2 separate regions of the Homo sapiens genome follow, and region 2 is linked to region 1. Evidence: promoter capture Hi-C in human tissues and cell types (Jung and others, 2019). All regions are on one chromosome and are shown on one strand. The core of a region is centred on a gene start or on the middle of the fragment in contact, and the rest is flanking DNA. Distances in the headings are between cores, read along the strand shown. Region 1 holds the start of LAMA1 (laminin subunit alpha 1). Region 2 overlaps LAMA1 (laminin subunit alpha 1).

Evidence for each region. Contacts are between HindIII fragments. The study calls those that stand out against the background at their distance.
Region 2: a contact is called between a fragment that was not itself captured here and the fragment with the promoter of LAMA1 in region 1, in 2 of the 25 tissues and cell types used here (mesendoderm cells and spleen).

What each region holds. Positions count from the first base shown.
Region 1 is chr18:7,116,354-7,121,423 of GRCh38, forward strand. It overlaps LAMA1 (laminin subunit alpha 1), which reads right to left and starts at 1,444. Exons shown (of 63, transcript NM_005559.4): 1 at 1,307-1,444. The coding sequence starts at 1,367. The HindIII fragment of the contact is 17,081 bases long and covers 1-5,070 here.
Region 2 is chr18:7,028,405-7,032,888 of GRCh38, forward strand. It overlaps LAMA1 (laminin subunit alpha 1), which reads right to left. Exons shown (of 63, transcript NM_005559.4): 16 at 3,662-3,772. Among named protein-coding and RNA genes, the nearest start is that of LAMA1, 87 kb to the right of the region's middle. The HindIII fragment of the contact is 6,276 bases long and covers 1-4,484 here.

The sequences.
Region 1 (5,070 bases), core at 194-2,693:
TCCCTCCCCAAAGGCTCCTTTCTTCTGGCTGATAACTATGTAAATTCCCTCTTCCCAGCCTGGCTCTGCGCAGCAGACTCGCAGCTATTCAATGCTGCGTTTCCAGCTCCGGTCCAGTGCTTCCATCATGAATGCTTGAATGAATGAGATGGTCGCGTTTCTGCAGAGCTCACAACTCAGCACAATGCCCAAACACACGTTTCCCACGAGGGCACTGCAAATTCCGCCCACTACTTTTGACTCGAATTTTTTTTTAATGAAGTTTATATTCGTGGGAATACGCCCATTGTCATGTGCTGCATACATTAAGATGTTTTCAACAAATATTTGTGACTGCCTAGCCAACACGAAGCCACGCTGCGAAGACAGCTCTAGGGGTGGCGTGGGTGACTAGGGTTGTCCCCCAAAAGGGAAAAGAATTCTTTCTTTCTTTTTCTTTCTTTCTCTCTCTTTCTTTTCTCTTTCTCTCTCTCTTTCTTTCTTCTCTCTCTCTCTCTTTCCGCCCGCCCGCAAAAACAGAAAATGAAAATTCGCTCTGAGTTTCTCTTCTCAATCCTTGCAACGCGCATGCAAGGTGCTCCCTTCTCCGCTGGTCCCTCGCCCCGGCGCGCCCACGGTCAATCCCGCGCAGTGAATGAGCGGGTTTGGCCACTTCGCCTATTGCACAAAAAGCGCGGGTCGGGAAGGCGCATCAGTGCCCTGGACGCCGCCTGCGGGTCCCCCTGCCCGGGACGGCTGGCTAGGGGCGCCCTTCTCGCCGCGTCTCTCCCCACTAGCCCGCTTGGCTGCCAGGGGCCCCGAGGAATCCGCCCTTTCCCGGCCGCCGCGACCCAGCTTGCGCAGCCGGACAATGAGGGCGACTCGGGAGAGCTCTTTCTCCATTCATCCCCCGCGCCCGGCCAACAGCCCCGCCACCCCCGCCCGCGCAGCCGGGGCACTAAAAGCAACCCCCGGCGCCCCGCTCCGGGCGCCCCGCTCCCGCCACCCCCAGCACTGCTCGCGTAGATGGCGCTCCTGGGTCGCGAAGTCCCGCAAAAGCCAGAGGCGAGGCTGGGCTTTAACCCCAAAGCCCGAGGAGGTTAAAGCCTAAGCCTGCAAAGAGCGGGCAGCGTCCGGCAGGAGCGGCGTCCCCATCCAGCCCTCCCCGGCAAGCGCGGGAGACCCACGTGGCCGAGACACCCACTCCGAGGTGGATCAGGATGCGCGCCCGGACTCCAGCAGCCCCAACGCGACGGGCTTTGTCCGCGGCCGCCCCCGCCCGCCCGCCTGCGGGGGACAGGGACCCTAGGACCCGGGCCGGGCTCACCTCTCTGCCGGCACTGCGCGGCGACACACAGCAGCAAGACCAGGAGCACGCCCCCGCGCATCTCGCCTCCGCCGCCACTCGGTGGGTCTGGGGAGAAAGCCGCGCGCCCGCCTGGAACGCTCCACGGGACGCGAGTCCGCGCTGCCCTGGCCCCGCCGCTCCTGGAGTCCTGCCGCCCCTCCCTCCAGCCGCCCTCGGACACACCCCTCGGCTGCGCCCCGCCCCGCCCCGTCCCGCCCCGGCTTGGCCCCGCCACCCAGACCCCTCCCCCGGGGGCGCCCAGCTTGGCCTCTGGGTCCCGGCGCACGCGGACCCCAAGTCGGGGAGGCCGGGCTGACCGCGGCCGCCTCCCCGGCTCCGGGTAGGAGGTGGGCAGAGAAGGTGGGCTGAGGGGAGGAGAAACTGGGCTGCGGGGGTCCGGGAGGGTGGATTCCGAGAAACTATGTGCCCAGCTGACCCTGCCCGCCCCGCCGCGGCCCTGCAGTCCCCGGGCCAGGACCCACGCGCCCCTGCCAGGAGCTGGGCGAGAGGCGACCCCTCGGGAAGCCACCCAGGCTCGGCCGACCCGCCGCCCTTTCCGCCGTGGGCAGAGGACTTGAGGATTTTTTCTGAAAATGAGTTGCAACTTGTTCCCGACTTTGTTTGCCTAAAGAAGGCAAGGTCACTTGGACTTAATTATTATAATTAGATACCCTTACTGCTGGAGAGAGAGGACGCGCTCCTGACACGCAACTTCAACTGCTGTTATTATAATTATTATTATTTTAAAACTATGTCTGGTCCCCGATAAAGAATTTTTAATTTCCTCTGATTTTTTTTTTCTATCAAAAGTATTGGATGGGTGCAGTGGCTCACGCCTGTAATTCCAGCACTTTGGGAGGCCGAGGCGGGTGGATCACTTGAGGTCAGGAGTTCGAAACCAGCCTGGCCATCATGGTGAAACCTCGTCTCTACTAAAAACATACAAAAATTAGCTGGGTGTGGTGGCACGCGCTTGCAGTCCCAGCTACTTGGGAGGCTGAGGCAGGAGAATTGCTTGAACCCGGGAGTGGGAGGTTGCAGTGAGCTGAGATCACACCAGCTGCACTCCAGCCTGGGCGACAGAGCGAGACTCTGTCTCAAAAAAGAAAAAAAAGGTATTCATAACACTTTGTAGATTTCACATTTTCTCAATATAAATATACAGGGACAATATCTCATTATCATCCCACCATCTTATTTTGCAGGGTTTTTTTTTCTTGATAGGAAGATAATTTCCTCTCACTTGTGTGAATCTATTTGACAACTCTATCAATTCCTGTTTTTCTGAGGACACTTCCTTACACATCTAGTGAGTAGAACTTAGTTATAGTACTTAGCCATCGATTAATTTTTAAAAATCATGGAACAAAATGATAGTTTGGCCGTTTTAAAAGGATGCAATATAGTTCAGTGAATACTCCATACAGTACTAAATTTAAAATGCAGACGTTCGTAACTATTAAAATGTTACTAAGTAATTATTAAATAAGTAAACTTAGTATTTAATAAATGATCAAATATTATAGTATTAGGCACATAGCTATTAAAATGCAGAATTATAAGCATTTATGCACTGAAATAACTGCACACACAGACCTAGCATTCATATAGATTATCTTTTGGGATCTTCACAACTCTATGAGATGCTTGCCAGGAGATAAGGAAGTGAGTTCTCAGTGTCAGCAAATGTCTGGTCTAGAGCTAGACCCCATGTCTGGTTTCTAGTCCATAGTCCTTTACAACACCACGCTGAAATCACAGAGGATGTTGATCAAAAGCAAACTTGGAGGTGGTGGCTAACGCCTGTAATCCCAGCACTTTGGGAGGCCGAGGCGGGTGGATCACCTGAGGTCAGGAGATCGAGACCATCCTGGCTAACGCGGTGAAACCCCGTCTCCACTAAAAATACAAAAAATTAGCCGGGGGGCGGTGGCAGGCGCCTGTAGTCCCAGCTACTCGGGAGGCTGAGACAGGAGAATGGTGTGAACCCGGGAGGCGGAGCTTGCAGTGAGCCAGGATAGCGCCACTGCACCCCCGCCTGGGCGACAGAGCAAGACTCCGTCTCAAAAAAAAAAAAAAAAAAAACCACACTGGAGGAATCACAAGGGGTGTCCCCATATTCTGGGTCTCCCCATATCCTGGGTTCCTAGAAATTCAGGCAGGAGGTCAATGGGACCTTATCTTTGAACTGCAAGCAGGGATCTCACGTGTGTAATTTCAAGGGAGGCAAGTGGTCAGCACCTCTGGGGAGTGAATAGGAAGCATCAAAAGTTACAAATTGGCACTATTTATCACTGCTCAAAATTAAGCAGAAAAGATTTCAATGAAAAGAATTCAGAACAAACTTGGATAAAATGCAGCAGTAAAAATGTCATAATTCTACACATCTTCTAAAAACCCTGCAGTACAAATTTTTCCAATCTTTAGCATGCTTGGAAAATATCTAAATTACCTAGAGCCCTATGAAAGTGCAGGGCTGGCTTGTTCAAGTTGAAAATGAGTATAACAAGAATGTTCACATTTTGTGAGAAAGTAAAAATTCAACTCAACTGGACACAAAAAGATCCTTGCTTCAAAGTCACCTATAAATAATGAACAATTGAAAATGCCTAAATGTCAAGCGATAGTTTAAATGGTTAAGTACTTTATAAATCAATGTAACAGGCTATTATGTAGCTACTTTTGAATTGTGAAACTCTGCAATGAAAAACAACTCATATGTTAAGAAATGCAACATTCCAAATAACATAGACATTCTGATTACAATTATGTATATAAAATAAGCACATGTGGCCAGGAGTGGTGGCTCAAGCCTGTAATCTCAGCACTTTGGGAGGCCAAGACGGGCAGATCACCTGAGGTTAGGAGTTCGAGACCAGCCTGGTCAACATGATGAAACCCCATCTCTTCCAAAAATACAAAAATTAGCCGGGCGTGGTGGCGGATTCCTGTAATCCCAGCTACTTGGGACGCTGAGGCAGGAGAATTGCTTGAACCCGGGAGGCAGAGGCTGCAGTGAGCCGAGATCATGCCATTGCACTCCAGTCTGGACAACAAGAGCAAAACTCCATCTCAAAATAATAATAATAATAATTTTTAAAAAGCACATGTGCAAACAAGGAACTAGAAAACCAACATACAGAAGTAAACAGTTTTGTTCAGGTGGTCAGAAGATGGGTAGAGGTATGGATGTTTTAGATAGTGAAGAAAAGCTCAGGCTGGGCTCAGCGATGGTTCACATTCTTTCCCCACGCTTACTAGCAGTGACATCTTGGGCAAGTTCCTCCTCTGTAAAATAGAGATAGCAATGGTGCCTACTTCATTCATTCAATAAACATTTTTTAAGTGGCTGCTAAGTGCCAGTGCTAGGGATATACCATGAAATGAGAAAGACGTATGACATTTCCCACCATGTGGAGCATGCAGTCTGATGGTTAAGGCAGAAAAAAGAAAAAATAATCATAAATTTAATAAGTGCCATCAAGGAAATATCTGGTTACTTAGATAAAGAATGGGAGGACCAGGTACCGATTGGGCAGTTTGGGAAAGTTTTGCTAAGACGGCTTATTGTATGGCAGGGCGCCGTGGCTCACCCCTGTAATCCCAGCACTTTGGGAGGCTGAGGCGGGTGGATCACAAGGTCAGGAGATCGAGACCATCCTGGCTAACACGGTGAAATCCCATCTCTACTAAAAATACAAAAAAGTAGCCGGGCGTGGTGGCGGGCACCTGTAGTCCCAGCT
Region 2 (4,484 bases), core at 1,642-4,141, 87 kb before region 1:
AATAACACACAGAAATAAGCAGATGACCACCAACTAACTTCTCACTTGAAGCCATGTAAGCCACAAGGCAACAGAACAATATTAAAGTACTGAAAGAGAAATCTGTAAAAATCAATTTCAAAACTGAAGGCAAGCCTTTTTCAGATAAAGGAGAGTTAAGAGAATCTGTCAACCAGCAGATCTGCACTACAGAAAGGCTAACAATCCAGGCTGTAGAAAGGTGATACCTACTAGACGAAATCATAGATTTATACCAGCGAATGAAGAGCACTGGAAATGGTACATACATGAAAAAATATGAAAAACCTTCCCCCCCTCATTTAAAACATTCTAAAAGAAAGTGCAGTCGGTGGTTAGGAGGTGTGCAGGAGCAAAGGGGAGGGGTGCGGAGGTCGGCACTGGGGCCAGGACCAGGCAGCACTGACCCCCGGGCAGCTACGGGCTCGAAGGGAGCGGGGCTTGTTCTGCACACGTGTGTCGCTGCTCCTCTTGGTGTGCACCTCAGCTCCCATTTCCCCGTGTCCCCTTCTCCTACGGCCACTCATTTTACATACTTTCATTGGTCATTTTTCATCTAGCAATTTAGTATTTTCAGTTTCTAAACCATATACATTTCCATCATTCCTCAGGTTGATGAAAGTTTTCCCATATACCACATTTAATTTGGAATTGTAAGCATTTGTATTACATCCATTTTACTCCAGGGTTTCATCAGTTTTACTTAGGGTTATCCTAGACCAGAGCATCTAAACTGGAATATGAATCTATTAATAAGTGCACCTGGGTTACCTGTAGACTCTGGTTCAGGGGATCTGAGGTGGGGCCTGAGTTTCTGCACTTCTAGCAAGCTCCCAGGTGATGCCCACACTGCTGGTCCTCAGACAACAGAGTCTTAGACCCTTTTTTCCTTCCCATCCTTCATAGGACCTTGGGTTTGATAATGAATCCAAATTAATTCAAGATGCAACTGGTCTTAGTAAAGGGTTACATGGTTGAGCTAAAAGTATTCTGCAGAGTAACTGCAATTTCATTTTAAAAATATTTGATAATGCTCATTTGGAACATGTCTATGGTATGTTTTCTTTGATCAAGGAGTCAGATAGTGCTTTCTTTCTCTTTGGGGAAACTAGTATGTAGTTCTGTTGAAAAACCCACTGAGGGTCTGTTTCAGTGCTTTTTCAGGCGTGTGCCACCAGCCCTTTACCTGACTGTCCCTGTTGGTGAATCTGGTATGTGAAGGAATGAGACTATTCCTCTCCTTGGGGAGGAAAAACATCTTTCGATTGAAAAAAGAAAGACATGAGGGCCCAAGACATGCACAATTTACTGTGATGCCATTCTCTTTTCTAAATCATGCCAAGCTGCAAGGAAAATACACAGACTTCTCCTTTGAATAAAGAGCTAAGAGAGCTCAGAGAGAAAAACAGGGGCTCTAAGAGCAACTGGAACCTCATCTCTAATGAACTGTGAATAAAGAATTAACTCCTGGAAGCTAGATAGTTATACGCAAGGCCCAGGGCTATGAACAACTACACAAAAGGAAGAATTCAAGCTTGTTTTTACAATATATTAGAAAAAAAAAAACCAGCAAGGTTAGATTTAACAGATATATGATGCTACCACGTTTTTTGTATTTCCTTAAATTCTAATTTAAATTTTTATTATTTTTGCCCTCTCAAACATTAATTAAGAAGGGAGAAATAGTAACTTCAGAGTGGAAAAACCTAGCAGACATCACCTAATTCAAGTGACCCAGATTAAGATCCCCAGGAAGAAGACACAATGATATCCTATCCATCTGCTCTCAATGAGAGGGCACGGCACCTCCACGTCTTCTGGTCAAAAATGTGTAACCTCAACCTAGTCATAAGAAAGCATCAGACAAGCCCTGGCTGGGGGACATTCCACAGAATGCTCAGTGCTCTTCAAAAGTGTCATAGTCATGAAGGACAAGGAAGTCTGAGGAACTTTCCTAGAGGAGAGGAGACTAAAAAGGCAAAGTCACTGAATGGTGTGGGGTCCTGGGTTCGATCCTACAAAAAAAAGGAGCATGAGTGAAAAACTGATGAAATCAGAATGTGGGGTGTAGTTCATCTTATCGTGCTACTTCTTCATTCTGATAACTCCACTCTAGTTATGCAAGATGGTAGCATTAGGGGATGCTGGGGGAAGGTTACTTCAGAACTCTCTGTACTTCTGTAACTCTTTCATAGCTCTTCTGTAAGTCTAAAATTATTTCCAAAACATGTTTAAAGCTATAAAATTATTATTTATTAAAATTAAAGCTTTAAGGCCAGTTGCTATTTAGCATTATCACTTTAATGTGAATATATATTTGTAAACATACATTAATGGAAGCATGAGAAATCTACTCTTTCAGCCTAGCTACAAAAGACATAAGTGGCAGAACCACAGCCTGCTGTACCCCCCACCCCACCCCACCCCAAATGCTGGCAGGAGGCCTTGCAAACCCAAATGGCAAAGGAAAGGAGGTGAAAAAAAAAGCAACCACCTCATCAAGCGGTTGGAAGCTGTGCACCTGAGGAAAGCAATCCTGGAGGGACTGAGTCTGCCCGTAAACCACCCCTTCATGCAATTCCTACAGAAGCTTTACTTACAGAACAAAGGGCAAAACAAAAGTTTTACTTACAGAATAAAGAAAAATTAAGTTCTAAGCCATCCTGGACATAAGCCATCCTGGACATCATTCTAAGATCTTCTCCCTGGGTCTGGTAATTAATTTTCCCTAACTCTGTGACTCAGTCAATCTCTTTTGGAAAAAGCATGAACATTTCCCTGCCAGGCGACCAGGGTACAGCTGATCAGCATATGCAGTCACTCCACCTCTGAGGATCAAACCCATGAGACCCCAGAGTGTGGCCTGGCTTCAGGGCATAGGGCCTAGAAGAATTCCTGATTGAAGTTAAGAAACAAGTCTTGCCCCACACCTGCCCCAAAGTTCATTCTCAAGATTAACTACCTATTTCTTAAGCCCTATTTCAACTCATATTGCATGAAAGAAGTACCTGTTTGATTAATTTATCCCAACTAACTATAAAGCATGGTATATAAGTGAGTGTGATTATACTTTATTCTTCTTCTTAGGGTATATTATGTAATATCATGATTTAAAAAAAATACTAGCATTGTCTGTGGCCTCAGCTACTTGGAGGGTTGAGGTGGGAGGACCATTTGAGCCCAGAAGATCCAGGGCTGCAGTAAGCAGTGTTGGTGCCACCACACTCCAGCCTGGGTGACAAGGTAAGACCCTGTCTCAAATAAATAAATAAATAAATATTAGCACTGTCATCTAAAGATCCTATGCTTTGTATTTAATAAGTAGACAACATTTTTTTACCTTTCTATTGCTTTATAGTCTCAGCAAATAAAAACAATTACTTTATATTAATCTAATAAAAAGAACTATAATGAAGTTGTATATCCCTTTTCCACTATTACCAAAGTAACTTTTTTCAAAAAAAAAACAAAAAAAAAAACGGGAAACATTTCATGACATGAGCTTAAATCTGTAAATTTTCTTTGGGGTCTATGAGGCTAGGGTTATTCCGTGGAGGAAGCACTTAAAAAAAAATCACTTGTACACAGCAAATGGCTCTGAATTGAGGAGGAGAGGGCACCTGAACTACAGTGAGAGACTCACAATGCAAACGCCGTGAACATTACACTCAGCTGCATGGCCGTGGCATTCACAGGGTTGACAAATTCCTCCAAAGAGTATTCCATCCACGCGGTAATAGCCAGAGAGGCACGACTGCAAGAGAAGGGAAAGTCATCCTCTTTCCACTACGTTACAAACAGAAACTGCTCAGTTGCCAGAGTACAGAAATGTCTTTTTTCTTAAACATCTTAACTGAGGTATCATTTACATGCTACACAATTCACCCATTTTAAGTGTACAATTCAATGACTTTTAGTAAAAACCTTACCGAGCTGTGCAACCATCACCATAATCCAGTTCCTTATTTCTTTTTAAAGGTAGAAACACACACACAAAAACGTAATGGTTGTGCAATGAGTCTTACGGCCTATTCTTGTTATGGTATTAATATCAATATGTTTGTCCAAGTGATTTCAAAATATTTTTAGCAACAGATTACTTTCATTGAGGATTCCAAGCGCATTTTCATATATTTCACATGTAAGGTGGAGCCCACCAAAGTAAAATAGCGAGGGGCCATAAAAGGTCTCAAAATAGGGCTGGCTTGTCTAAAGCTACCCAGGTCACATGCTGGTGATTTGTAAATGTTCAGATATGATCAAGTTCCATCCTCCTTAGAAACACAGTCAATGGCATGAGTATTGCAAGTTTCTTGTTGACTAAGGCAAGAGGGCAGCACTAAGTCAGAATATTGTCCGGTGCTCCAGCCCATTCCTGGTGGAGGAATCTGATTTTTTTAAACAATGTGACTTCTAATATTTCTATTGCCCAAAAAAGACTGAGCCAAACATTGGGCTGCTAAAGC